Linked DNA regions of Homo sapiens: region 2 is linked to region 1. Evidence: promoter capture Hi-C in 16 types of primary human blood cells and fetal thymus (Javierre and others, 2016). All regions are on one chromosome and are shown on one strand. Each heading gives the region's core, a stretch centred on a gene start or on the middle of the fragment in contact. The rest is flanking DNA. Distances are from core to core; before and after follow the strand shown.

Region 1 (7,736 bases), core at 1,238-3,737:
GTTTTTATCATAAGAACTTTTATAAAAATCTCCAAGTACTATGAATTCACTTTAATCTCCCTTTTATTTACCTATGAAGTAATTTTTGTGTTTAACACGTTAGTTATTAAAAGATAATATTCAGCAGGAAAACCAATCAGTATATATCATGCTAATGGAAATAATTATGCTCAGTTTCATAGGTGACTCATGACATAAACAGTTGGAATTTAATAAACTTTGTAATACACAGGAACAAGCTGCCAACTCAGTATCACACAGTCACACACATACACGTAGAGATCCAGGAAATTAGCATGGCACACTTTAAAACAAACATCTTAACAGTTAAAAGTGTAAATGACTGCTAACGTACCTTCTCCAACTGTGCCCAGTTATCCAACTTGACTTTTAAAGAGGTCCCGTTTTCAAAGGATGATAATTCAAGTTCCCAGGGGTAATATATACAGAATATTTCTGCAATTAGGAAGCCATTTGAAAAATCTCTGATCCGTGGCAATTAGGAAATGAAATAAAGTGTAGTTAATTATGCAGTTTGTATTATTTTATAATTAATACTAGTCTAATATTCCATACTAAAAGTATCTTGTAAAGTGAGTGTTGTTGGATCGTTGCTCTAAGGAGAACCTACTGTGGAATTTTGCTAAGATTATCTACGTTTCAAAGGCTTTGGTGTTCTTTTGATGAACCCAAACTGTTAATTTGTATTGAATCCGCATTTCAAGAAGATCCCCAGGTGATTCATATGCACTTTAAAATTTCAGAGGCATGGTTGTAAGTAATACTGAAGACAAATTAGTAAACTAGTCCCCCGCTTATCTGCAGTTTTGCTTTCTGCAGTTTCAGTTACCTTGGGTCAATCACAGTCGGAAAATATTAAATGGAAAATTCAAGAAATAATTTGTAACTTTTAAATTGTACTCTGTTCTGGGCAGTCTGATGAAACCTCCCTGCCTGCTCTGTGTTGCCTAGGATGTGAGTCCTCCCTTTGTCCAGAGTCTCCACGTTGTAGACATCAGTCACCTTTTAGTCATCAGATCAACTGTACAGTGTGGTGCGCTTGTGTGCAAAGTGCAAGAGCAGTGATGCTGGTGATTCAGATATGCCAGAGAGAAACCATAAAATTATTCCTTTAGGTGAAAAGATGAAAGTTCTTGACTTAATAGAAAGTTGTAAGAATGGTTACAATGGTAGGAATGAATCATATTCCTGAAATATGAAGAAAAAGAAATTCTTGATAGTTTCGGCATCACACCTCAAACTGAAAAACTTTCAGCCACAGTGTGTGATAAGTGCTTAGTTAAGATTTTTAAAAAGGCATTAAATTTGTGGATGGAAGACATAAACAGAAATGTGTTCTGACAGAGGGTTCTGTAGTATCCACAGTTGCCATCCACTGGGGATCTTGGAACCTATGCCTCTCTGATAAGGAGAGACTACTTTAAACCAGAGTTCTGCAAAAGATTCATTGCCTTTTTATAGAATTTAGTTTGCATTCCCAGAGCAAATATTAGCTGCCAGTTACATACAAAGTGCCTACAATTAAGCAGCAACTTTAAAAACTTGTTGGTAACTCTCAAACTAGATGCCATCTCCGACAAAGGGTAAACTGATCCTTACCAGTATTTTTTTTTTTTTTTTTTTTTTTTTTTTTTGAGACAGAGTCTTACCCTGCCACCTAGGCTGGAGTGCAGCGGCATAATCTCGACTCACAGCAACCTCCGCCTCCCGGGTTCAAGCATTCTCCTGCCTGCAGCCTCCCCAGTAGCTGGGATTACAGGCACCCGCCACCACACTGGGCTAATTTTTTGTATTTTTTAGTAGAGACGGGGTTTCACCGTGTTGGTCAGGCTGTTACTCAACTCCTGACCTCAGGTGATCCGCCTGCCTCGGCTCCCAAAATGCTGGGATTACAGGCATGAGCAACTGTGCCCGGCCGTCCTTACCAGTATTAATGCCCAATATCACTAAAGAAAAAGCTTTGACTATTTTAATATTTTTGTAGTCACCAAAGCATTCTATATTGTCCACAATTTAATGATTGGTTGATTAATTGAATAAACAAGATGTATCGTGGTATTTTGTTAAAGCCTTGTTCCCTAATAGTGTTTTCGTGTGTGTACGTGGGTGGGGGGGTCTTGATTTGAAACATAAGCCAGGCCAGGGTAGGCAATCTGAGGCCTGGCAGGCGGCGGAAAGCAGGCGGGGCGCCCACCGGGGGGGCCTAGGACTGGCTTACTCAAGCACCTGTTGATGTTCCTGGGGAAGAAGCTGAGATCCAGACCCTGAAGCCAACGCAGAACGGAACGAGACAAGCGGGAGCTCTTCGGCGCATGCGGATAGACCAGACACTTCTTAGGCCTCCCTCGGATGGGAGCTGCTAGCTGTGGCGAAAGTGACGGTGACTTGTCTAGGGCTGCCGCAGTCTGTGTCAAATACCCTTTTTCCTGGCCGGCGGCAGCCATGACGCTTTCTGGGTTGCTGCGGCAACAGCAGAAGGCGGGGCTGGGCCTTATTGCTGGCGGCGCGGTCTCGTGGGGCGGGGCGGAGTCTTATGGGGCGAGACCTCAGCGCCTGCGCAAGCGCCGCAGCAGCCGCCCGTACTTCCGCTTTACTCAGATTTTGGACCGCGGGGCCGGGTATCGAGGGAGGCAAAGCTGGGGTCCCAGTGGTGTGGCTGCGGTCTGGGGAGCGCTTTCAGTCTCAGATTTAGTTGGCCTCACTGTTAACCTATTTAGAGCTTTTTTTTTCTTATGTCATCGTTCATAAGTTTTGTATTTTAAATATTGTTGGTTTCTGCCCAGCCAAAGGCCTATTTTCAGTCGTCTAGTTTGAGGAGTGGTGTGAGAAGACTCCAGAGGCCAAGGACAGTTTTTGTTTGGGAATTGGAAGAGATGGGGGAAAAAAATCTTTGAAATGGAAATGAATGTCCACAAAATTTAACATAACTATTTCCTTAATTATTGCATTAAGTATTTGTAAACATTAATATTTGAAAACGATGTGTAGGTTAGATTTTCACACTTAATTAAAATCTCCTAGTAGGCATAATTCCTTCATTAATTCAACAAATATGTATTGAGTCCATATTATGTGCCACGCATTCATCTAGTCACTTGGGATCTATCTGAACACAATGAAAACAACTGCAAAGTTGGCATAGGCAATTATAAATATGTAAGCTTAATTATTAAAATCCATTAAAAATTTTTACAGCCACAGTTTTTTGTTTTTTGTTTTTTGTTTTTTGTTTTTTTTTGCTTGGCAGGGCACAGTGGGTCATGCCTGTAATCCCAGCACTTTGGGTGGTGGAGGCGGGAGGATCGTTTGAGCTCAGGAGTTCAAGACCAGCCTGGGCAACACAAGGTGGAGAGACTTTCGCTACAAAACAAACAAACAAACAAAATAGCTGGGTGTGGTGGTGCACACCTGTACTCTCAAGTACTCCAGATGCTGAGGTGGGAGGATTGCTTGAGCTCAGGAACTTGAGGCTGCAGAGAGCCAGGTGACAGGCCCTGTGGATACATACACATGGTAAAATATGGGATAGATCTTGATAATGATACTATGTAATATTTTTAATGTTTATTCATATACATGCTTATTAATAAAGTAAACCAGTGTATTCTGTATGTGGTTAAAAAAGAAAACCAAAACTGAAGCTATGTAAGTGTTTTCTGTTAGGCTAAAAAAGTTTTAATGAATGATTCATTCATTCTGTAAACCTTTTCTGAGGAACTATCCTGGAGTATGTGCTAGATCTTTACCATCCAATATGGTAGCCACTAGCCACATGTGGCTATTTAAACTTAAATTTAAATAAACTCAGTTCCACTGGCTACATTTTACCTGCTCAATAGCCATATGTAGCTAGTGGCTGCCATGTTGGGTAGGACAGACACAGCACTGTTCCATCACTACAGGAATTTCGATTGGACAGCTCTGTGCGGCAGATCATTTATAAGAGATTCAGAGATAGAAATATCAGTGAAAAGATTACATACACTGAAAAGCTCTGCCATGGTAAAAATATGTTAGCACCAGAAAGGAAGCAAATACTTTGGCCTGGGAGAGTGTAAGAAGTCCTCTCAAAAGAGATGACCATTAATTTGGATCTTAGAAGGTGGTATTTTAAGCTGATTTTTAAGATGAAAGCTTTGAATAGCCATTTCTACTGTGAAAGGAAATTAAATCTTGGGACCCCCCCCACCTCCCCCAAATCACTAAGCTAAAGGGAAAAGTCAAAGTGGGAACTGCTTAGGGCAAACCTGCCTCCTATTCTATTCAAAGTCACCGCTTAGCTCACTGAGCTAAATGCATACCTGATTGCCTACTCTGGAAAGGCTCATCAGAAACTCAACAGAATGCAACCATTTGTCTCCCATCTACCTATGACCTGGAAGCCCCCTCCCTGCTTGAGTTGTCCTGCCTTTGCTTCTAGTTGTCCCACCTTTTCCAGACCAAATCAATGTTCATCTTCCACATGTCGACTGAAGTCTCATGTCTCCCTAAAATGTATAAAACCAAACTGCCCTGACCACCTTGGGCACATGTCAGGACCTCCTAAGGCTGTGTCACGGGTGCTCATCCTCAACCTTGGCAAAATAAACTTTCTAAATTAACTGAGACCTGTCTCAGAGTTTCTGGGTTCACACTACCTTTTATTAGCTATATGACTTTGGGCAAGTTATTTAACATTTGTATTTGTAAAATATGGAAATAAATAGGATACACCACAGAGCTGTAGAGATTAAATAAGTGAAATCTATAAAGAGCCTAAAACAATGTGCAGCACGTAGTGCTCAGTAAGCATAGATGATTGCTTCAAAGGTGATCTTGGAAATTTATTTGGATGATGAAGGGGCAATCTCACACAGAGTGACTAATGGGAGCAATTGCATAGAAATATGAGGGGTTTTTTAAATGAGTTTTAGGAAAGAACAGAACCCATTAGGGTTAGAGAAAGTGTTTAGGCATTATCAACCAAAGAGACATTGTCAACCAAAGGTTTAGATGATAATGGCTAGAGAGGTAGGTTAGATCTATAGGTTAGGGTTTATTTGTTTTTGTTTTTGAGACAGAGTCATGCTGTTGCGCAGGCTGGAGTGCGGTGGCGTGCTCAGGGCTCACTGCAGCCTTGACCTCCTGGACTCAAGTGAACCTCCCACCCCAGCCTCTCATCTCAGCCTCCCAAGTAGCTGGGACTACAGGTGCAAACCACAATGATTGGTCAGTTTTTAAATTTTTTATAAAGACGGGTCTTGAACTTGTGGGCTTGAGGAATCAATCCTCCAGCCTTGGCCTTCCAAAGTGCAGCAATTACAGGCATGAGCCACCACGCCCAGCTAGATTGGGGCTTAATTGTAAACAGTTTTGCTAAAGAGTTGGAAATCTTCCTGTAATCAGTGTGCCAATTGTTAAGCAAATACATCCCTGTTAGAAACACTCCCTTCTCTGTTCTCAGTTCTGTGATGCCGGAGTTGGAACGCTGCGGCATTTTCTCCTTTGCTGGGTGGATGGTAAATTCTGCCAATATGGGGAGTGAGAGAGTGGCCAGGAGGTGGGGAGCAGGGATTTGCTATTTCTCTGCTTGCTGTTCAAGCCCCTGTGTAACCATGGCAACAAAGCTTCACCTGGCCGGGGCAATTGGTTCCAGTCTCCAGTATGGTTGGTTGGTTGGTTTGTTTGTTTAGCACTCCTGGTGCAAGTTTCATCATATTCTCTCCGAGGTTTTAGCAACCACCAAGAAGTGGCCCTCCTTGGAAGTCTGAGACCCAATTTTACTCTCGGACAGCTCATGTGAGCTCCTGAAGTATTAGCACCAGCTGTGTACGCCCCATCCTCAAGTCTAAGTCTTGAGGCTCTTAAGCCTCCAACTCTTACGTTCTTATAACTTCAACTTCTTCCCTGGGGGTGGTAATTGCTTCCTGAAGTGTCTAGCTCTGTGTTAATTTGATGGTCCCATTTTAGTTTTTCGGTTCTTCAACACCACCAGTTCCTTATAAAGCCGATGCAGGTTTGAACCACAGGATTTGGAACTGCACGGGCCCACTAATATGTGGATTTTCTTCCACCTCTGCCAACCCCAAGACAGCAGGACCAATCCCTCCTCTTCCTCCGTCTCCTCAGCCTACTCAGTGTGAAGACAAGGATGAAGACCTTTCTGACGATCCACTTCCACTTAATGAATAGTTAATATATTTTCGCTTCTTTATGATTTTCTTAATAACATTTTCTTTTCTCTAGCTTACTTTATTGTAAGAATACAGTACATAATATATATCACACAAAATATGTGTTAATTGATGTTTATGTTATTGGTAAGACTTCCAACAGTAGGCTATTAATAGTTATGTCTTTGGGGAGTCTACAGTTGGGTTTTCTACCATGCAGGACGTCGGTCCCCCTAATCTTAATGTTGTTCAAGGATCAGCTGTTAAAATTCTTGCTGTTGAATACCTGGAATTAGTTCTGTTTTCCTGATTGGATGCTGAATGACATATTGCTTGGTACCTGGAGTGAGGTTTTTCTCTACCACTAGCTCACCTGCATCTTTCTAAAGTATCTAAGGAACTTGCTTCTTCCTGTTCATGAGGTCGACTCAGCAGGATATCATCAATATAGTGGACTAGTGTGATGTTCTATGACATGTTAAGACACTCAAAAATCTCTGCCAATCTTGTGGCAAAGAGCAAGAAAATTGATCTGAACCTAAGGCAATAGCTTGAATGTGTGCTATAGATCCTGATAGATAAAAGCAAACTGCTTTTGGTGGTTTTCGCAGACTGTTATGGAGAGGAAAAAGTACATTCCAGATTAACAGCAGAATAACATTTGCTGGGGACTGTAGAAATTCATTCCAGTAAAGACACTTCAGGCCAGGTGAGGTGGCTCACACCTATAATTTAGCCCTTTGGGAGGCCGAGGCGGGTGGATCATTTGAGGTCAGGAGTTTGAGACCAGCCTGGCCAACATGGTGAAACCCCCTTCTCTACTAAAAATACAAAAATTATCCAAGTGTGGTGGCATGCACCTGTGGTCCCAGCTACTCGGAAGGCTGAGGCAGGAGAATTGCTTGAACCTGGAAGGTGGAGGTTGCAGTGAGCCAAGATCATGCCACTGCACTCCAGTCTGGGTGATAGAGTGAGACTCCATCTAAAAAATAAAAATAAAAAATAAAAAATAAAAAAAAAGACACTTCCAATGGAAAAGCAGCTGTAATTGGAGTTAATTAAGTCTACAGTAATCCACACTCATTCATTAGGATTCCTCTAACCTGCATAAGCCAAACAGACTTTACAGCTCACAGCATAGGAAGCAGCGTGAGCTCTGTTCATGCTAGTACTTCTTGCCCACAGGTGTCTCGGGATGACGTGAAGAGGCTGAGGTGGAAGCCTCACACACCATGGGTTTACATCACAGCTGAGGAATCCCAACCTTAGGGAAGCCCAGTCTTTTATAATGGGCTGCAAGGAAAACTGCCAAATCTTTGCCCTGGAGGGAAACATTGTTCTTACGATACTGGTCAGTAAACAAACCTGCAGTCTCCTCTGAAGGAAGATACTATATTTTTTAACACTGTTCACTATATGAACATCTTTAAAAAGATGTTCTGAAACAAAAGCTGCCAGGGCATCTGCTTGCAAGATGCACAGAAATGCAAACAACTCAAAATGGATGGGTATACCAAAAAGCATTACAAATCCATTTCCATTTCCTGATCTTTACTCCCCGTT
Region 2 (7,736 bases), core at 3,383-5,882, 2.9 Mb before region 1:
ATTGTGACTCCAGTAAAACGACTCAAAAATGGGAAATGAATAACATCCATAGTGTTTAGAGAGAAAAAAATAAACCAATAACCTACCTACTGACAAGTAAATTTATACAGGACTGAAAACCGCCTGAAACCTGCTGCAACTATTGTTATTAACTCTGTATAGCTCCAAACCTGGAACCTCCTGATCAGTTTGAAGGACATTGATAAACTGTGATTTTACAATAACATTATCATCTGCAGTTACTGTTTACAAGACTGCTTTTACCTTAAACTTTGTAGATGTTTACATCTTTTTGTTGTGTTTTAAGATGATGTTGGTAATTTGTGCCTTTAGCTCTGTTTTATTAGACAGAGTTAAAGCATGTTGTCTTCTTTGGGATTACACTCAGGGGTCTGAAAGGCAGTTTGATTTTTATTTTTAACACACTTGAAAAAAGGTTGGAGTAGCCAGACTTTCATATATAACTTGGTGATTATCAACCTGTTGTGTCTTTATTTAATTTTACATCTTTTTGAAGCACTGCCACAGGTTATTAGCCAAGGTGGCCTTCCTTCACAGTCATGCTGCTTTTTTGAAAGGTGAATTTCAACACATTTAGTGCCTCTTTCATTTCTCAGTATATATTTCAAGAGCTTGTGATGAAATCTATAGGATGGTAATGATGGACTTGTCACCTGTATGGGGAATACTTTTACTACTCAGAAATGAATTTATGTGCTGCCATTTGCTATAAAGTTGAACTTTGTATGGCTTGAAAAAGAAATGACAATATGGAACATCCCAAGGCTGTCCCATAGGGTTGGAAGTTGTGTAGCATTCACTCCCTTACCTACTGGCATTCCCAGTGCCCTCTGTCCATACCTACTTCTAGGATTGCAAAGGAGTCTTCCAACTAGAGAAAAATTGTCCACTGACATTTGGGATTTACTTTTCTCCAATACCTGCCAATACAGAAAACTATTATCAGTTGTTATTGTTATCCCTTGAAAGCGAGGGTGACAAAAACAACAAAACACCGTTATAAACACATCAAAGGTTCATTCTGACTGAGGTAAGACTTTCCAAGCCCTTGTTAGATTAGGCCTTATAAAACTTGTGTGCATTATAACCTAAGCTGTGCAACCTGTGAAGCCAAGAGTGAACTGATGTTTCATTTATATTTTCATCCAAATGACATTATCTGCACGTTTTTAAAATTTAAAAACAAAGGACTATTTAAAAATACAGTTTATTAACAAACGTGAACTACTTTCTGTTACATTAGGTGTTCCCTAGTGTTTCTTAATTTCTTTTTAGAAAGTGTATTTTTATTAGTATTTTTCCGGTGAACAGAAGATTTGTTTGGATTTAAACATTTACTAAGACAGTACCTATTAGGAAAACCAAATATTGCAAATGGTCAATTCGATTTTAATTTCTCAAAAGATACTCTGTTATCCAGAAGATTAAAATGCCTACATTGAGTGCTTAAAAAAAAAAAAACAACTGTGATGATGTGAGCAGAATGGCAAGTAAGTTAAGCATTTTTGATCCTGTAATCATGGTATCATTACAATGAAAGGAATTCACAAACTACTGCCAGAGGAAGTTTGTTTTTTAATTTAAGAGGGAAATATAACCTATAAATTTGTTTCTTCCAAGCTTAGCTCTTAAATTTGGAGACTCAAAGTTAAACATCCTCAACAGAGTTTTATTTATAATTTTGAATTGTCAATTTGTATTTTGCTACTGATCTGTGATCAACCATTTTAACTTTCATCTCTAGGGATGTTTAACATTTATAATTGCAAAATAAACCAACTATAAAAAAAGAAACTAAGAGAGAATTGGTACTTTAATTACTTGTGTGTTTGCAAATAGGCTCCATTTTCCATGTTGAGTAGATTATAACCTTATTAACTATGCATAGGCCTAAGAAAGGTGGCAATGAACTGTGCATGTAAATTTTAAATGGGTACTTTGTGCAATTCGTTAAAAGAAGATACTCTATGAATATGATTCTATATATTGAAATCAGAAAACCTACCAAACAAAAACATCAGAAGCTGCTGCCATAATGACTATTTTCTACTGTAGGCTGCTTTGGAAATAATTCCCATATCCTTGCTTTGTAAGTTGGTAATATCACTATGCATTTCTACACATTTTATAAATTTGATTTATGCAGATTTTGATACACTGTATGTTTCTGTAGAAATTGTATAAATATTCAAAATTTTATTAGGATAAATTTGAGAAACTTACGTATATCTTAATTCTGGGTTGCTTGTTTTTTAGGTGACAAAAATAAAATATTGTATTTTAATTCATGGGTTTTTTTGGTGCTTGTAATCATTTCAAATCTAAACACTGCACATTTGAAAGAATTACTTGATTTTACTATTTACAAGACACACAATACCTAAAATATTATAGACCATAGTTATTAGTTGAGTATGTGCTTGACTGTTGCTTAGCATTCTGTTACACATGCTTAGAATACTCAGAGCTTATGTATCTGTTGGAAGGAAACAAAGGTTTATTTTTACCTGTTTGCCTATGTATACCAATTTTTTAAGTTTATACTTTTTTTAATTATAAAAAATTACCCCAGCAACATATATCCTTCTTGGCTGTATATAGAATTGCCTTCTTGGCTGTACTATAGAATTGCCTATTAGAAGCAAACATGCCTTCAAATCAAATTTGTTTACAACCTGACAGATCAGGTTAAGTGGAGAAAAATGAAGAGAAGGGAAGCCTACCACAATGAAATTAGAAATAGTCCATAGCACCTTGTACAAAACACATCTCAAGAGAAGATACGGTTGCTAACAGATTCAAGTAAGTGGCTGTATTGATTTGGGAAACTTTCTCTCAACTGACCTGTCTATTGTCATATCTCCCAATTCTTAGCTGCTGTAGAAGTAGGCTAAGAAATTTGAAAAAGTGACAGCACCAGACTAGAATAAATGGGAGTTTCTTTATTTCTTAAGTTTCTCATAGGGATCTTGGAATATATTTCATTTCTGGACATAATTGGGAAAAAAATCCATATATAATTCAATGGAAAACATGACAAGTACCTCACCAGAAAGCCAGATACCTAATAGGCCAATAGTTTAGGTACGTGAAAATTATTCCATGTGAAAGCACTTTAAGAAGTGTTGAGCATTATGAAACTGTGATGTGATAAGTGCATCTTGAAGAATATCTAAGATATTGTATCCTTCAAATTACCTTTAAATGAAATTTCTCTTGGGCTTTTGGTTTGAGCAAATAAACCACAGCTGTATTAAGAATTAACTAACCGAAACAAAACTAAATATTTGAATAGAAAATAGGGATGAATAGACTTCCACTTCCGGCTATAATTTTAAGTGGACTTATCTTGCTACCCCAAACAACAGTTAATGCTGGACAAAATATATGAAGCAACTGTTTTCAGGAATTGGATACTAGTCAAAGCAGACTGATATCTAAAAGAAAGGAAATACACAAGGTGAATCCCAGGTTCACCATGTCTGTCTCCATGGGAGGACATTCCCAACCATGGTGCAAGGAATGCGGCTCAGAATGGTGGTATTGCTGAACTGAGGAGGCGGAGTGGAGGTTTCCGGCTGCTGAAACAGCTAGAATCTACAATCCAGGTTATTGGAGGGGAAGTACGCTTGAGTGTCAGGAGAGCTATACAGGAATTTTTATACCACAGCCATTTGCAATAGCGAAAACCCTGGAAGCAACCTAAATGCCCATTGACAGGAGAAAGGATGAATTGTGATATAATCACACAATGGAATATTACAGAGATGAATATGAATAAACTAGTTGTTATAAACAAGTTTTAGGTGTACAGGATTGAATGAAAAAGGCACTTCCCAAAACACTTTATTCAGCACTTTTTATCAATCTCAAAAGTGACTAAAAGTAAACATACAGTATGTTAATACATTTATACATGATAGGTTAAATAACTTGTCCAAGTTCACAAATTTAGTACTGGGGTCAAGGACATAATCAAGTCCAGTACTCAATATCCCTCTAACTCTGTGGGATGAATATTTATTTGGTGCCAGGAAAAACTCTCCTAAAGAATGTATGTTTTCCACATAACTTCTTTAATTTTCCTCTCTACCTAGACTATCAAGAACCTCAGGGCTGGAACAGTGGCTCACACCTGTAATCGCAGCACTTTGGGAGGCCAAGGGGAGAGGACTGCTTGAGTCCAGGAGTTTAAGACCTGCCTGGGCAACATAGCCATGTGTGGTGGCACACATCTGTGGTCCCAGCTGCTTGAGAGGCTGAGGCAGAAGAATCGCTTGAGTCTGGAAGGTGAAGGCTGCAGTGAGCTAGAACTTTATCTAATACTCCATCGTAGTATCTGTATTAACCCATGTATATCGGCATATATACTTTTAGCTAATATTTATCGAGCATTTACTATTTCTTGCCACCAGGATAAGTGTCTTAAATGTATTACTTTACTTAATCCTCAAAAACATTCAAATTTTACAGATGAGGAAACCGAAATGTTACATGAGTTGTCTGATGTTACAAAACCAGTAAGAAAAACAGAGCCCTATTCAAATCCGTGATTCACTACCTTGCTTTTAATTTCTTTCATAACCTTGTTTTTTTCTTTGTATATTTTGTTCTTGTTTTTCTTTGTATAAGCCATTAATATTTTTTGGAAAAAATTTGGAGAATCAAAGAATTACACAAATATGAATGGATTATGGTATTTTACTATCTCTTATCTGCCCGAGGACAATGTCCAAGTTGATTGTCCTGCTTTTCTAATGAAAGACTAGATGATATAAAGGCCATTTCCAGTTCCAAAATTTAGTGCTACATAATGCTGAAAAGTTATTTTTCTTTCCTTTTAATGCGACAGTCTATTGCACTCCTGAGTTACTATTCTATAGATGTGGTAACACCTAGGATGAGGATCACCAGAAGTCTGCACTGTTAACTCTTGAAGAATAAAGGCCCAGGAGCACAATGAAGTTCAATTGAAACATTTTTATTTACCTTTGCTGCAGGGTAAGTTGAGTTTCCAATCAGGGCAAGAAGGGTTTCTGACCTATAAAAACAATGGTTAGCTGTAAGGCATATATAAACTTTTATTAACCTTGGACCTGACTCAAGTAAAAATTATTACACTTATATTTACTATTTAATTTATAGAAGTGGCAAACTGGTGACCTTTGGGCAGAATCTTACCTATAGACATGTTTTGACCCCAAAATTGGAATTCATTGCCAATACTGTATTTAAAATTCAGAATTCACGAGTTCTAGTTCCACTTGAAAATTTGAGAGATCTGGGAATCCTATATTCACATTTCCATCTAGCAACAGGACTGAGCTAAACAGTGGCTATCCCCTTTAACCTGGGTATTTGTATATTTACAAACATGCTTAGAACACTGTTTCTTGCATTAGAGACAAAGCAGTATACAAAAGTGAAAATTTTACTGCCCTCACAGAGCTTACTTTCAAAATGTTCTTCACTTCACCACATCCAGTCCTTTTCCCTGGCTAGTCTCTATAGGTCTTGGCATTTCCTAATGTCAATAAATACTCTGCCTTTCTCTAAAACTGTCAGTCTCCAACAGGAATCTCATGAAGAACTAATCCAAACATGGTGAGGTATGAAATTTCATTTTTAAAGGACTAGATCTTACACAGTGGCATAGCAGCTCCTTTAGCTTTCTTGATTTTATTCCCCAAGAAATAAAATCATTACTGCTTTGTAAAGCATTTTTAGTGATATATTTAGTAATAAAAAGCCAGGTTTAAGATAATGCTATTTTTCTACTATGTAAGACAACCTTATGATTTACAGTAAGTGAAACTGGTAAAAGGTAAAATACAAAAAAAGCATACTTTCCTCTATTGATCAAGTTTGCAGTGAGTGCTTTGTTTGATATATAAGAGAATTTAGGAAATTCTAACCCAGTGCCCTGCTTTTATAGATTAAAAGACCAAAAGTAGTGGCTGACATCGGGAAGGAAACGTGAGCCCCTACCTCAGTCCTTGCACCAAAATTAATTCCAGAAGGATCAAAGATGTAATCAAAAATTTAAAAAAAGAAACCAAAGGATAATTATTTTTATAGTCTTTTATGATCTTTGAGTGGGAAGGACCTCACTAGAAAAGTTTTAGTGAAAGAATTGCTAAATTTGCCTACATAAAGAAATCTCTGCATGAAAAAAGCATCATAAAGTCAAAAGGGTCATTTTCCTTAATATATAGTATTCCCAAAAACTATTAATAAAAAGACCAGTGAGAAAAGACCACAGGAAAGAATACAAATGGCTTTTTTTTTTTTTTTTTTTTTTTTGAGACAGAGTCTTGCTCTTGTCACCCAGGCTGGAGTGTAGTGGCGTGATCTCTACTCACTGCAAACCTCTGCCTCCCGGGTTCAAGCGATTCTCCTGCCTCAGCCTCCCAAGTGGCTGGGATTACAGGTGCCCATCACCACACCCGGCTAATGTTTTTGTATTTTTAGTAGAGACAGGGTTTCACCATGTTGGCCAGGCTGGTTTTGAACTCCTGACCTCAAGTGATCCGCCTGCTTCGGCCTCCTAAAGTGCTGGGATTACAGGCATGAGCCACTGCACTCAGCCCCACAAATGGCTGTTAAACATAAAAAAAAAATGAAACTCATAATAGAAAACATTTTATCTATATCAGAATAACAAAGACTAAGAAGTTTGAGAACTATTATGTTGCTGAGATGAGGAAACAGGCACTCCAAAACATTTCATTGCTATGGAGTGTCCACTCCATAGCGTAGTACAACTTCTATTGTTGAGAAGCAGTTTTGTTTAGCAGGCTCCATTAACAGCACCAGAGCAGTTTCTGGCATATATTAAGCACAGGTTTTAGCTAGTATAGTTAGCACATTTTTAAATGTGCATGTCTTTTGGCCCACCTACTTCACTTGTAGGTCTTTTTTCACATGTGACATCAAATGGTTTCGTTTTTTTCAGACCAAGTCTTGGTCTGTTGCCCAGGCTGGAGTGCGATGGCATGATCACAGCTCATTATAGCCTAGACATCCCAGGCTCAAGTGATCCACCTCAGCCTCCTAAATAGCCAGGACCACAGGCATGCACCACCATGCCCGGCTAATTTTTGTATTTTTGGTAGAAACAAGGTCTATGTTGACTAGACTAGTCTCAAACTCCTGGGCTCAAGTGAGCCTCCCACCTCACACTCCCAAAGTGCTGGGATTATAGGCGTGAGCCACCATACCCAGCAAGTGTTCTCTAACTAAAAATAGAAAAAATTAGCCAGGCTTGGTGGTGGGCGCCTGTAGTCCCAGATACTTGGGAGGCTGTAGCAGGAGAATGGCGTGAACCCGGGAGGCGGAGCTTGCAGTGAGCCGAGATGTGCCACTGCACTCCAGCCTGGGTGACAGAGCGAAACTCCGTCTGAAAAAAAAAAGAAAATATGTATATAAAACAAAAACAAAACAAAACCCATAATTATCCTATTATCCTTAGGGAACTGGTTAAATTATGATCTATTCAATGGGATACCATACAGATAGCTATTTAAAGGAAAATGGCAGCTCTGTTGCTCTGGGGTACTGAAAACAATCTCCAAAATAATGAGATGAATACACTTGTATATAGGAAGCTTCTATGTAACACTGTAACATATACACACATATATATTTTTTACACCTATGTCTTTCTTAAAGGATAGATTATTGCATTGTTGGTGTTGCCTCCTGGGACAGGGTAG

What was found. Contacts are between HindIII fragments. The CHiCAGO score rates a contact against its expected background, and 5 or more counts as called.
Region 2: a contact is called between a fragment that was not itself captured here and the fragment with the promoter of SPATA4 in region 1, in 1 of 17 cell types (total CD4 T cells). The highest score is 5.9, in total CD4 T cells.

What each region holds. Positions count from the first base shown.
Region 1 is chr4:176,193,098-176,200,833 of GRCh38, forward strand. SPATA4 (spermatogenesis associated 4) reads right to left here and starts at 2,488. Exons shown (of 6, transcript NM_144644.4): 1 at 2,248-2,488; 2 at 356-485. The coding sequence starts at 2,465. The HindIII fragment of the contact is 1,203 bases long and covers 1,978-3,180 here.
Region 2 is chr4:173,321,659-173,329,394 of GRCh38, forward strand. It overlaps GALNT7 (polypeptide N-acetylgalactosaminyltransferase 7), which reads left to right. Exons shown (of 12, transcript NM_017423.3): 12 at 1-2,309. The coding sequence ends at 59. Among named protein-coding and RNA genes, the nearest start is that of HMGB2, 8.8 kb to the right of the region's middle. The HindIII fragment of the contact is 5,987 bases long and covers 1,640-7,626 here.